2 separate regions of the Homo sapiens genome follow, and region 1 is linked to region 2. Evidence: promoter capture Hi-C in 16 types of primary human blood cells and fetal thymus (Javierre and others, 2016). All regions are on one chromosome and are shown on one strand. The core of a region is centred on a gene start or on the middle of the fragment in contact, and the rest is flanking DNA. Distances in the headings are between cores, read along the strand shown. Region 1 holds the start of HINFP (histone H4 transcription factor). Region 2 holds the start of SLC37A4 (solute carrier family 37 member 4).

Region 1 (7,308 bases), core at 3,671-6,170, 91 kb after region 2:
AGGGCATCTCTCCCAGGTGACCCTTCTTTTCTGTCCCAGGAGGGTGGGTAATTCCCTTTGGGATGGGGCTCCCACACCTCCCTCAGGTCCCCACTCAGACCAGCACCAGTGTCTGCCTCTGAGAATGTTGGCAGCTCACAGAGAGCAGGGCCGGCCCGGGATGGGGGGCAGGTACTCCCCACCTTCCTGCCTCCCCTCCTGCTCCTCATCCCTCCCTCCCCCTTTATTACCGTTTTTTGTACTTGATGCCTTCTCTGTGAGCAGTGGCTCTGTGGGAAGGAGGGAGCCGGGAGCCTGGTGGGAAGCCTTCCCCAGAGAGATGGCTTTAGGGGCTTTATTTAAAGACTGTGATGATGGAGCCACGCAAGGCTGCACCTCTGTGTGTTGGGAGACGATGATGATGTCCATTGCTGTGTGATGGCTTGGAATTTAATTTATTAAAGTCAAATTGGAGTTTATAAACTGGACAACTGGTTATCCTTTGAAAGGCAGTAGGCAGCCAGGCTGTGACATGGATGGTGTGGGAGGATGAGACAGGGGCCCGGATAATGAGGTTGGGTAGATGACACACATTGTGGATCTGCTAAGAAGTTCCTGCAGGGAAGAAGGGGTGTGCAGAGAAAGGATGGAAGAGACAGGAGGCTCTGGAGTATGAAATTGTAGCAAAAAACTCAATCAACTAGTACAGGTTAGTCTTCATTCCCCTTTCTGGAACAGGCTGCTCCTTCTAGGATGTAATGGAGATCAAAGCTTGGACCCTGTAACTAGACTGCCTGCCTGGGTTTGAGTCCCAGCTCTTCTAATTACTTGTGTGACCTTGGGCAAGTTATGTAACCTCTAAGTGCCTCAGTTTTCTCATCTGTAAAATGGGAACTTCAATCATCATGGCTATCATTTGGTTGTGGATGAGAAGTAAATGAAGTGCTGAGTGTTAACTGTTGCCTCAGAAGAAACTGGGAGGGGGAAGTCTTAGAAGTGTTTCAACATAATAAAAGCTCTCTCATTCTGAAATGTGGGCAAATTTCAGGGATTGATAGATCCTAGCAAACTGTGTCCCTGGTTCCCGTGCTTGAGATCTTATACAGGACTTGAACCAGGTAAGCTGCTACAGGATATTGGGCAGAATGCAGGACCAGGAAGCAAGAAAACTGAGTCTGCCACAGACAAACCAAGTGATCTTGAGCAGGCAACTTCTCCTTTGGGGACCTCAGTTTCCTCATATCTAAAATAAGGGTGACCTGGATAAACATTCAGGTCACTTCCAGCCTTGACATTCTATGACTACCTATATCTCAGGGTGTTTAGGGCACATGCCTTTGGGTAGATAGCATGTGGAAATTGTTACTATTCCCCATGCTCCTGTCCACACTACTCACCAAATATGAGATATCCGGGAAGAATGGAGGGTATAGATTTTTTTTTTCAATTAGATAATTTAGTTTTATATATTTGGGGGGACAAGTGCAGGTTTCTTACATGCATATATTGCATGCATAGAGGTGAAGTCTGGGCTTTTTTTAGTGTGCGCATCGCCCAAATAGTGAACATCATACCCAATAGGTAGTTTTTCAACCCTCACCCTCCTCCCACCTTCTCACCTTTCATAGTCTCCGATGTCTTTTATTCCACTCTATATGTCCATGTATACCCATTATTTAGCTCCCACTTATAAATGAGAATATGCCATATTTGACTTTGTTTCTGAGTTATTTCACCGAGGATAATGGCCTCCAGTTCCACCCATGTTGCTGGAAAACACATGATTTCATTCTTTTTTATGGCTGAGTAGTATTCCACTGTGTGTGTGTGTGTTGGGCGATGATAATGATGTCCATTGCTGTGTGACAGCTTGGAATTTAATTTATTAAAGTCAAGTTGGAGTTTATAAACTGCATTTTCTTTATCACTCACTACATTAACTACGTTTTCTTTATCCAATCCTCCATTGATGGACACATCGATTTGGTTGATTTTTATGTAGTGAAATGTTCAATTCTAAGTCATGAAAATTCAAAGAGATTTTTCAAGCTGTTTCCCCAGTCTAAGAAATGTAACTCTTAGTGGTTCACAGAGGAACAGTTTTTCTACCAGTATGACACGACAACCAAACACAGTGAACTTGTGATTGCACAAGAAACTTTTGTTGATGGGAGAACAGGTATTCAGAGTTCTACAGGACCTGGGGAATGAGTAGATGGTAACTGGAATCTGTATTGAGCTTCCAGTACTGAGCTGCCCAGAGTTCCATGGAATCACATATTTTAGTGAAGAAGAGCCTGATCACGTTTCAAAAATAGGGAATTTTTAAATGAATGAAAAAAATACGAAACATATTTTCATCAACTTAATCCATTTCACACTTTCAGAAGGGATCCACAGCTTTTAATGAGTATGAATTATGCTTTCAGTTTTTGTGGCAGCTTTTAAAGAACAAATCTCAGGATATGTCTGAATTACCCAGCCAAAATTGTGGCTTGTTTTCAAGAGAAGCAGATTGAGATAGAAGTAAACTATGCTAGACAGAATGACACTGCTTTAAATTTTGGAAACATATATATGGATCCCAGAGCAATCCTGAAATTTTTGCTCTGTAACCTATGTTTGAGTTTACACAGCTCTGTGAATGAACTTTTTCTTCATAAAATTGCTAAATAAAGCTAAAAGCTATTTTCAGTGGTGTAAATCTGAATTAAAATGAGGATGGCATTTCATGAAGTACTACTATATGCATTTTTGAATGAATAAAGTTGGTAAGATATATTTTGTTACTTTTGAATTACATTTTTTAAAACGCTTTTTTTTTTTTTTTGAGACAGAGTCTCTCTCTGTTGCCCGGGCTGGAGTGCAGTGGAGTGATCTTGGCTCACTGCAACCTCTGCCTCTCAGGTTCAAGCGATTTTCCTGCCTCAGCCTCCTGAGTAGCTGGCACTACAGGCACCCACCACCACACCTGGCTAATTTTTGTATTTTTTGTAGAGATGGGGTTTCGCCATGTTGGCCAGGCTGGTTTCGAATTCCTGACCTCATGATCCGCCCGCCTCGGCCTCCCAAAGTGCTGGGATTACAGGCATGAGCCACCGCGCCCTGCAAAACCCTATTTTAAAATAGGGACCAAGTTATAACTCACTGTTGTTAAAACCAAAATTTATGCACAAGTATGACTTTACTATCTTAATGGCATTTTAAATTTTATTTTATATATATTGAACATTTAATGTGTTTTCTGATTGTACAAATTATATAGGTTTATTTTTAGATTAGAAGATACAGAAAACTACAATGCAATAAAATATCAGTCTTAACCAACTTTATTAAGGTATATTATTTAACAAGTATGTCTTGAACCCTTACTGAGTTTCAGCCACTGGGCTAAGTGAGTGATGGGTTTTTTGTTTTATTTTGTTTTTTGTTTTGTTTTGAGACAGAGTCTTGCTCTGTTGCCCAGGCTGGTGTGCAGTGGTGCCATCTCAGCTCACTGCAACCTGTGCCTCCTGGGTTCAAGCGATTCTCCTGCCTCAGCCTCCCGAGTAGCTGAGATTATAGGCGCCCGCCACGATGCCCAGCTAGTTTTTGTATTTTTAGTAGAGACGGGGTTTCCCCATGTTGGCCAGGCTGGTCTTGAGCTCCTGACCTCATGTGATCCACTCGCCTCGGCCTCCCAAAGTGCTGGGATCACAGGCGTGAGCCACGACACCCGGCCCACTGATGGAGTTATAAAGGTGAAGAACTAGTCTAGTGAAGAATGCAGACTGAGAGTAAACAGACAAATACAATGTGACTGAGCTGTATTGTTAAATACAAGAAAGGACTATCAGGAAGACTTTTTGGAAAAAGAAGCATCTACACTGAGACCATAAAAATTAGTAGGAGTCAGTCAAATAAATGTGGGAGGAGGAGAAAGGGATTATTCCAGGTAAAGAAAACAAGTTCAAGGCTTGAGAGGTAAAAGGTGGCTTGGTGTGGTGGAAAAGGTGAAAGAAATTTGCGACTGGAGAGCAAGAAATATGGTCGAGAAGGACTAAAAAAAAGTAGACAGGGAGAGCCCAGATGCTGAAGGGTCTAGAAAACCTCAGTATGGTTTTGGAGCTTTGCCCTGAAAGCAATAGAATGCCTTTGAATTGTCTGAAGCAGATGGTAACTTGATCAGGTCTGCTTTTTGCAAAGTGGAGAATGCTTTGGAAGGAAGCAAGTGTGCACGCAGCGGGACCCATTAGACTAATGTATAAATCCTGCCTGGAGGTCATCACTGGACAGGGGAGGTGGGGGAGGCGGTGAAGATAAACAAAAGGGGATAAATTTGAAATATCCTGTTTTAAAAGGAGGTAGAATCCACAGAACTTGGCAATGGATTGGATGTGAGAAGTGAGAGGAATCAGTGATGACTGCCAGCTTTCTGACCTGAACGAGTGGATGAAGGGAAGCCGAGTTTTGGGGGGAAAGAGAAACATATAATACCAACATTTAAAACATAATAAGACTAAGAGGCTGAAGGAAAGGGTAGAACCTTCAATCTGAGCCGAGCGGGGCCGACAGCGCTGGGCAGCATCCCACGCCTTTTTCTCCGCGAGGCCCACGCAACCAGCCAACTAAAGCGAAGAACCACGTGAGGGAGACCCCACTGCGCACCAGGCGCGAGCCCTGCGCATGCCCGTTGGGTCCCGGAGGCCGAGCCTGCGCAGTTAGGGGAACTCAGGCCCATAGGCTCCCCGCCTTTGCGTTGCCCTGAGCAGCGAGGCGCGGTCACGTGCTACCTTTTGCACGTATCCTGTCGCCCCTCTGTCCGCCCGGGACGCCTAGCCCCACCCACTGTTCCCGCCCCTTCCGTGTTTTGGTGCGCACGGGTTCCGCCAGACACAGCTACCATTGGCTGTCAGTCGGATCCGAGAACGACGATTGGCTTTCCTTGACCGTCCCTCAAGCGCCTCTCCGGAGATGGTCTGAGGTGGGAGAAGAGCTGAAGAGACCTGGAGCCGACAGACGGTAAGCTGGGGTATGTGCTCTGCAGGGGCTGCAGGAGGCCAAGCTCTTCCCGAGCCACCTCGGCGAGTATTCTTGCCGCTTGGCCACGCTGGTCTGCCCTGGTCCGGTCCCCTCACCCCGACTGGAACCTCCCTGCTTTCTAGTCTAGGGGCTTCGCTGCGGCTGAGACTCGGTCGCCGCCACGCCTTAGCGTGAAGGATTCCGGGAAGCCTGCGGGACTGCGAGTGGAGAGGTTTTGCCCAACGGGACGGTCTCCTTCCTTCTGTCCAAATTCTACCTGTCCTTCGAGGCGTGGTGCGGGCCCCACTGCTTAGGGGAGACTTCCTTTTCGCCTGACCGCGGAGGTGTCTCTCTGTCCTGGTCTCCCTCATCGGGTACTTTGTTTCGGTCGTTGTCTTCACGTATCAGTCTTATCTTTTTGGCCAAATTATGAGTTCTTAGGCGTTTAGGACCCTTTTTTTCTTGAATACCACAGTTCATTCATTGTCTTGCGTTACAGTATATGCCCTCTTAAGTGTTAAGAGGGTAGAGTGAAGATCATGCCCCTATCTCCTCAGAGTAGAAACAAGAGACACAGAAAGAGAAATTAAAGAAGACAGGAGGACAGTCAGAGAGCGTCAGGGAGTTTTGCCTAGGTTTCAGATCATTCTGTATCGCCAGCTAGCTTGCCTCCTTGGACTTACCCACCAGTCTAACAGCAGGTGTATGTTTAGAATATTTGTGCTCGGCACAGTGTAGGGACACGGGCAGGTGTGATATGGTTTCTGCTCAGAAGCTTCTTATAGTCCAATTGGGTAAACGAGACTAGAACACATAAAACGACCATGGCAACATGAAAATAGGGTTGAAGTTTTATGGTGTCAGCTGTGCCAGCCATAGAACTAAGGAGCAAGAGTAGATTCAGGGATGGGGTAGTTTAGGAAGGCTTCCCGGAATGTGATTATCTCCTGATATTTATTGAGTACCTGGGGTGTGCAAAGCTCTGTGCTGAATCTGAGAATGAGAAGTGAATAAGTGATGGCCACTGTCCTGAGAAACTCCTAGTCTAGGGGAAACAAGTTTCATTGCATTGATAGCAAAGATGTGTGTGGATGCCGTGGGCAAGAGATGGGATATGCCAGCTGTACCTGGATGAATTGGGAAGGGGGTCATCAAAGAGAAGACTTTGGGGTTTGAAAGGCGAATAGAAGTTGCATAGGTAGGCCTGTCGCGGTGGCTCACACCTGTAATCCCAGCACTTTGTGAGGCCGAGGCGGGCGGATCACTTGAGGTCAGGAGTTTGGGACCAGCCTGACCAACATGGCAAGACCTCGTCTCTACTAATACTACAAAAATTAGCTGGGCGTGGTGGTGCGTGCTTATAGTCCCAGCTATAATACTTCGGAGGCTAAGTCACGAGAATCGCTTGAACCTGGGAGGCGGAGGTTGCAGTGAGCCCAGATCACAGCACTGCACTCCAGCCTGGGCGACAGAGCAAGACTCCATCTCCAAAAAAAAAAAAAAAAAAAAAAAGAACTTGCGTAGGCAGAGAGTTTTAGGAGAATGTAGAGTATTCAGAGACAAAGATGATTGAATCAGAGGAAGAGGGAATGAAGTATGGGTGAGGAAGCCAGAGAACAGCATCATGTGGGAGAAAGAGCATGATCTTTGGATTGGAATGAGGGTGCTCTTACATCAGATGAAGTGTAGAGAGGACTCACCACAGGGCTGACACACTGTAGCTTCTCAATAGATGTTCGTTTCCCTACCTAGAACTGGAGAAGTAAAATTGAGACCACTTTGAGAAGAGCCTTGCATTTCATACTGTAATAGTCAGAGGAGGTGTGGGATTTTATGACTTTTGAAGCTTTTTTCTACTTTTCTTACCACAACATTATAAAAGCAGTCAATATTCAATATTTCTTTCTTCTTTTTTTTTTTTTTGACAGGGTCTGGGTCTGCCGCCCAGGATGGAGTACAATGGTGTGATCTTGGCTCTTTGCAACCTCTGCCTCCTGGGCTCAAGCCTTCCTCCCACCTGAACCTCCCAAGTAGCGGGACTGCAGGTGCATGCTACCACATCGGCTGTTTTTTTTTTTTTTTTTTTTTTTTTGAGATTGAATCTTGCTCTGTCACTAGGCTGGAGTGCAATGGTGCGATCTCGGCTCACTGCAACCTCTGTCTCCCGGGTTCAAGTGATTCCCCTGCCTCAGCCTCCATAGTAGCTGGGACTACAGGCGTGTGCCACCATACCTAGCTAATTTTTTGTATTTGGCCAGGATGGTCTCAATCTCCTGACCTTGTGATCCCCTCGCCTCGGCCTCCCAAAGTGCTGGGATTACAGGCATA
Region 2 (6,999 bases), core at 1-2,500:
CGGAAGGAGGCATGCCTGTGAGCCAGGCCAGCACCCTGTGTCCCCAGGATTTCTGCCTTTACCTCCTCTATCATGTCTGCTTGCCTGTGAAACCAGCTTTGATTAAAGGTTCAACCTAATTACTTTTGTCTGCCTGAGCCCAGGGGAGGCAGGGGTGGGATGAGCAGAGATGCCCTCTCTAGCCCTGCTCCCTCAGTCACAGAACCTTCTCATTCATTCACGGAAGGTTTATTAACTTACTAGTTGACAGGCACTGCACTTGGCACTATTAGTTTCTACACCCACTCACCACCACCGCACCAAAACACAAAGTCAGACACATACCCCGGCTACCCCACTTCTAAGCCTTCTAGAGAGGGCCTCAATCCGTGGAACTCTCAATACTTAGCACATAATAGATTTAATTGTTTCCTACAGTTGCCCCTTGTAATTCTGTGCAAGGGGGACCTCCCCAGTTCAGGTCCCACGGTGTCACACAGAAAGCCCCGCTAAGGGCTGAGGTCCTGATGGGGCCCCACAGAGCTACCTCTGGGTCCCCATTACCCTGCGACGTCAGTCTGGGCTTCCTTCGGGCTAGCTGGGGGCTGCAGGGTCTGGTTTCCAACCTGTGGGACGTTGGCAGGGGCCGCAAGCAGAGGGACTGGGCAGCTCGTGGGCGGGAAGGTGCCCCGGCGGGCTTCGGGCTGCAGGGCACAACCGTCCCGCCCAGGGCCCCGGCAACATGCCCCGGCTTTTCCGCTCAATTGGGAAAGCAACTGGAGCAGAAGGCGTAGGCGCACGCGGAGCGGGCGACCGCACGTATTCTCCCGGAGGCCCCGCGCTTCTGGCACCCAGAGGCTCAGCCTGGTAGGGGAGGGCCAGGCGGCGGGCGGGAGAGGAGGAGAGGCGGCGGGCGGCGAAGAGGCGGCGGGCTCGTGGCACCTGCCCAGCCCCGTGGGTCCTCACGCTACCCAGGACACGCTACTGTGCGGCTGGGAACCACGGGGGCCGGGGGTGCAGGAGCTGGAGAGGTGCGGAGACCACAGGACTGGCGCGATAGAAAGGGGTCTCGTGCTGGTGGTCAGGGACAGCGCCTCGGTGGCCCCAAGACCCATGAATTGTCTCTGGAACTGCAGGAACAGCTCCGGGTCGTATCGGAAGTTGGGGTTCGCCAACAATGGCTCCCCAAGACCTGAGATCCCCGCCCTCAGGTGACTCCCCTCCCCCGCATACCGCCTCCTACCTGAACAGAGGCGGGAGCCCGAATAGGACGGGGCGGGGCTAGCGAAGGCTGCGCAAGCGCGGCCGGCGGGGGCGTGGTCTTCGCCTGCTGCTTCGCTTGCCGGCCAGTGGAGTTCCCCGCCCCACATGCCGGGGACGTCGACTTACTCCCTCCCGCTGGTCACGCTGCTCCTTGGACGAACGAGCATAGCGCCCCTTAGGGGCTGGGCACGGCATGTCCAATTCTTAAGTGGTTGCATTCAACAAACCAGTTTTTAGTGAGTGCCCTCCTCTACAAAACACACCGAACACTAAGGTGATAATCATTGTTCCCAAGTTGCTCACAGTCTGGGAAAGGTGTTGTAGGAACACACAGTATTTTCTTTTTTTCTTTTTTTTTTTTTTTGAAACAGTCTCGCTCAGTCGCCCAGGCTGGAGTGCAGTGGCGCGATTTCGGCTCACTGCAAGCTCCTCCTCCCGGGTTCACACCATTCTCCTGCCTCAGCCTCCCGAGTAGCTGGGACTACGGGCGCCCACCACCACGCCCGGGTAATTTTTTGTATTTTTAGTAGAGACGGGGTTTCACCGTGTTTGCCAGGATGGTCTCGATCTCCTGACCTCGTGATCCGCTCACCTCGGCCTCCCAAAGTGCTGGGATTACAGGCGTGAGCCACCGCGCCCAGCCCACAATTTGGAATTTTAACTTGTGGTTAGATTGTTGGGGACAGAGACGGGGCCTGGAGTAAATATCAAATTCTAGTCCTAGACCCACAGCATTCTAACTGTATGACCTTGGTTAATCTCTATGAGCTCCCGTTTCCTACCAGCCTGGTAGATCATTGTGAAGACTCAACAGATGATTTAGATAAGAGCTCAGAAATTCTATAAGAGTTCTCAACAACAATGGTTTTCACTGATCCCAGTTAAGAGTTGTGAGGAGTAACAGTAGTGATGCTATTTTACAACAATGATGACTGTGTTCTCAGAAACAGAGCAAATGTTAACCCTGCCCATAGCTTCAACAGAAGGTAACATAGCCTAACAAAGTCCCCAACAGTCCCAATCAGCCAGCACTTCCCGACCTCTCCCCAATAGAAACGATATTATAAAAGCCTCAGCTTGTAAGCGATCAGGGTCTCAGCCAGACTCCTGACTGGAACTCCTTGCAGGCTTATTCCTGTGAATAAACCTGTTTGGCCGTTGAGTTGCCTCCTGTCTCTCGCTCTCTTCCCTTATATCTTCCTAACAAGAGTGGCTGAAGGAATTGTAAGTGTTCCAAAATTGAGAGCAAAGATCTTTTACTCCAGAGAAGATGGTCAGGGAAGGGAGGAGGAGGAGATGAGATAAAATAGGATGACAGGCCGGACGCGATGGCTCATGCTTGTAATCCCAGCACATTGGGAGGCCAAGGCGGGCAGATCACTTGAAGTCAGGAGTTCGAGACCAGCCTGGCCAACATGGTGAAACCCTGTCTCTACTAAAAATACCAAAATTAGCCAGGCTTGGTGGCACACGCCTGTAATCCCAGTTACTGGGGAGGCTGAGGCAGGAGAATTTCTTGGACCTGGGAAGCAGAGGTTGCAGTGAGCCGAGATCGTGCCACTGCACTCCAGCCTGGGTGACAGAGCGAGAGCCTGTCTCAAAAAAAAAAAAAAAAAAATAGGATGACGATGTCACTGAACTTCGTTAATTCAAAATCGGGGAGGAGCCTAGTTTGTACCAGGCACTGTGCTTTCAGCCAGGTAGATCCAAGGACCAGGAAACAGTTCCTCCGAAACCAAACCAGAGCAGATTCTTACTTTACCTAATAGAGGAGTAGGAAGCCATCAGGTTTTTCTCCGCTTTTATTTTTAAGATTTAACATACACATAATAAAATACAAAAAGTGCAGGAATCTTACATGTACAACTCAGTGATTTTTTACACATGTTAATACCCGTGTAACCACCACCTAAATTAACAGCCCTATCGTTTTGTTTTGGAAGTGGAGTGATCTCAGCTCACTGCAACCTCCTTCTCTGGGGTTCAAGCGATTCTCCTGCCTCAGCCTCCCGAGTAGCTGGGATTACAGGCATGCCCCACCATGCCCAGCTAATTTTGTAATTTTAGTAGGGGTAGGGTTTCTCCATGTTGGTCAGGCTGGTCTCAAACTCCTGACTTCAGGTGATCTGCCCCCCTTGGCCTCCCAAAGTGCTGGGATTACAGGCATGAACAACTGCACCCAGCCAACCCGGTTAATTTTTCTATTTTTTGTAGAGACAAGAGTTTCACCATATTGGCCAGGCTGGCCTCGAAATCCTGAGCTCAAGGGATCCACCTGCCTTGGTCTTCCAATATCCTGGAATTACAGGCATGAGCCACTGTGCCTGGTCGATGGTGTTTATTTGTTTGTTTGTTTGTTTTTGAGACAGAGTCTTGCTCTGTCGGCCAGGCTGAAGTGCAGTGGCAGGATCTCGGCTCACTGCAACCTCTGCCTCCTGGGCTCAAGCCATTCTCCTGCCTGAGCCTCCTGAGTAGCTGGGATTACAAGCATGTGCCACCACGCCCAGCTAATTTTTGTATTTTTAGTAGAGACAGGGTTTCACCCTATTGGCCAGGCTGGTCTCGAACTCCTGACCTCAGGTAATCCGCCCACCTCGGTCTCCCAAAGTGCTAGGATTACAGGCGTGAGCCACTGCGCCCGGTCTGTTTTTTTTGTTTGTTTGTTTGTTTGTTTGTTTGTTTTTGAGACAGGCTTGCTCTGTTGCCCAGGCTGGAGTGCAATGGTATCTTAGCTCACTCTAACCTCAAATTCCTGAGCATTGAGCGATCCTCCCAAGTAGCTAAGACTACAGGACCAGGCCACCTGGGTTCAAGCGATTCTTCTGCCTCAGCTTCCTGAGTAGTTGGTATTATAGGTGCCCGCAAACACGCCTGGCTAATTTTTGTATTTTTAGTACAGACAGGGTTTCTTTCTTTCTTTTTTTCTTTTTCTTTCTTTTTTTTTTTTTTTTTTTTGAGACAGAGTCTCGCTCTCTCGCCCAGGCTGGAGTGCAGTGGCACCATCTGGGCTCACTGCAAGCTCCGCCTCCCAGGTTCATGCCATTCTCCTGCCTCAGCCTCCCGAGTAGCTGGGACTACAGACACCCGCCACCACGGTCAGCTAATTTTTTGTATTTTTAGTAGAGACGGGGTTTCACTGTGTTAGCCAGGATGGTCTCGATCCTGACCTCGTGATCCACCCGCCTCGGCCTCCCAAAGTGCTAGATTACAAGCGTGAGCCACCGCACCCGGCGTACAGAGGGGGTTTCGCCATGTTGGCCAGGCTAGTCTCAAACTCCTGAGTTTAGGTTATCCACCTGCCTCAGGCTCCCAAAGTGCGGCGATTACAAGCATGATCCATCGCACCCAGTCAGTGGGAATTAAATGGAAAAACATTTTAAAGCACTTTATGATCAGGATAGTAGGGACTCAAATGCTAGTTTGCTCACTGTATTTCCAAAGAATGTTAAGAAATGAGAAGATAGGCCGGGCATGGTGGCTTACTCCCGTAATCCCAGCACTTTGCGAGGCTGAGGCGCGCGGATCATGAGGTCAGGAGTTCGAGACCAGCCTGACCAACATGGTGAAACCCTGTCTCTACTAAAAATACAAAAATTAGCCGGGTGTGGTGGTGTACACCTGTAATCCCAGCTAATCAGGAGGCTGAGGCAGGAGAATCACTTGAACCTGGGAGGCAGAAGTTGCAGTGAGCTGAGATGGCGCCATTGCACTCCAGCCTAGGTGACAGAGTGAGACTCCGTCTCAAAAAAAAAAAAAAAGAAAGAAAGAAAGAAAAGAAAAAGAAATGAGAAGATGACATCCCAATACAGTACAAAGACTTTACTAAGGGATAATAAAAGGTAATTTGAACAAACGTAAATCATACTACATGCCTGAAAAACAAGCTATGACTTTGATACTGTCCAAATGTCAATCCATTCAAAATTCATTTGGCATTTTAAAACCATCCCAATCTATATCCCAACAGAATTTGTTGGAAACTGGACAAAGTTTTTATTTTTTTTTCAGAAGCCATAGAAATGAATGGACAACATTATTTTAAATATCATCCGAGGTTGGGCCCAGTGGCTCATGCTTACAATCCCAACACTTTGGAAGGATGGCTTGAGGTCAGGAGTTTGAGACCAGCCTGGGCAACGTAGTGAGACCCCATTGCTACAAAAAATTTAGAAATTAGCCAGGTGTGGTGGCATGTGCCTCTAGTCCTATCTACTCAGGGGCTTAGACGGGAAGAGACCTTGAGCCTAGGAGTTCAAGGCCTCAGTGAGCTATGATTGTAGCACTGCACTCCAGCCTAGGCTACAAGAAAGACCTTGTTTCAAAAAAATTTTTTATCTCATGTATGATTTTAACTATGATAAAAGGGACATCCTGCACAGGTGCAGTGGCTTATGCTGTAATTCAACCACTTTGGAAGGCTGAGGTGAGAGGGTTGATTGAGTCCAGGAGTTCAAGACCAGCCTGGGCAACATAGGGAGAACCCCCCGCCATCTCTACAAAAATATAAAAAATTAGCCAGGGTCGGGTGCAGTGGCTCATGCCTGTAATGCCAGCACTTTGGAAGGCTGAGGCAGGCAGATCACCTGAGGTCAGGAGTTCGAGACCAGCCTGGCCAACATGATGAAACCCAGTCTCTACTAAAAATACCAAAATTAGCTGGGCGTGGTGGCATGTGCCTTTAATCCCAGATACTCCTGAGGCTGAGGCAGGAGAATCGAATGAACCCGGGAGGCGGAGGTTGCAGTGAGCCAAGATCGCGCCACTGCACTCCAGCCTGGGCCACAGAGCGAGACTCCATCTCAAAATAATAAATAAATAAATAAAAGTAAAAATTAGCCAGGTGTGGTGGCATGTACCTGTGGTCCCAGCTAATTGGGAGACTGAGGTGGCAGGATTGCTTGAGGCAGGAAGGTCAAGGCTGCAGTAAGCTATGATCGCACTACTGTACTCTAGCCTGGGTGAAAGCAAGACCGTGTTTCAAAAGAAAAATTTTTTTTAATTAAAAAAAATGACACTCCTGGACGGGTGCAGTGGCTCACGCTTATAATCCCAGCACTTTGGGAGGCCGAGGTGGGTGGATCACGAGGTCAGGAGTTCCAGACCAGCCTGGCCAACATGGTGAAACCCCGTCTACTAAAAATACAAAAATTAGCCAGGCGTGGAGGCGTGCACCTGTAATCACAGCTATTCAGGAGGCTGAGGGAGGAGAATCGCTTGAACCTGAAAGGCAGAGGTTGCAGTGAGCCAAGATGGCACCATTGCACTCCAGCCTGGGCAACAGGGTGAGACTCAGTCTCAAAAAAAAAAACACAAAAATTAGGCGGGCATGGTGGCACACACCTGTAATTCCAGCTACTAGGGAGGCTGAGGCAGGAGAATCACTTGAACCAGGGAGGCGGGGGTTGCAGTGAGCTGAGATCATGCCACTGCACTTGAGCCTGGGTGACAGAGCAAGACTCCGTCTCAAAATTTAAAATAAATAAATAATTTTTTTTTTAATTAACCAGGCATGGTGGCTCATGCTGATAGTCCCAGCTACTCAGGAGGCTGAGGTGGGAGGATTGCTTAAGTCTGGGTGGTCAAGGTTGCACTGAGCAGTGATTGTGCTACTGCACTCCTGCCTGGGCAACCGAGTGAGACCTTGTCTCCAAAAAAGTAAAAAAAAAAAAAAAAAAAAAGGAAGCCATCCCAAATCAATAGAGTGGAGTGGATTAACTAATAAATAATGCCAGGCACAGTGGCTCATGCCTGTAATTG

The links. Contacts are between HindIII fragments. The CHiCAGO score rates a contact against its expected background, and 5 or more counts as called.
Region 1: a contact is called between the fragment with the promoter of HINFP here and the fragment with the promoter of SLC37A4 in region 2, in 1 of 17 cell types (total CD8 T cells). The highest score is 5.1, in total CD8 T cells.

What each region holds. Positions count from the first base shown.
Region 1 is chr11:119,116,660-119,123,967 of GRCh38, forward strand. It overlaps HINFP (histone H4 transcription factor), which reads left to right and starts at 4,921. Exons shown (of 10, transcript NM_198971.3): 1 at 4,921-4,980. It overlaps C2CD2L (C2CD2 like), which reads left to right. Exons shown (of 14, transcript NM_001290474.2): 14 at 1-1,885. RefSeq lists a silencer at 4,655-4,934. The HindIII fragment of the contact is 5,005 bases long and covers 749-5,753 here.
Region 2 is chr11:119,029,627-119,036,625 of GRCh38, forward strand. SLC37A4 (solute carrier family 37 member 4) reads right to left here and starts at 1,251. Exons shown (of 10, transcript NM_001467.6): 1 at 1,223-1,251. RefSeq lists silencers at 706-865, 6,371-6,525. The HindIII fragment of the contact is 18,338 bases long and covers 1-6,999 here.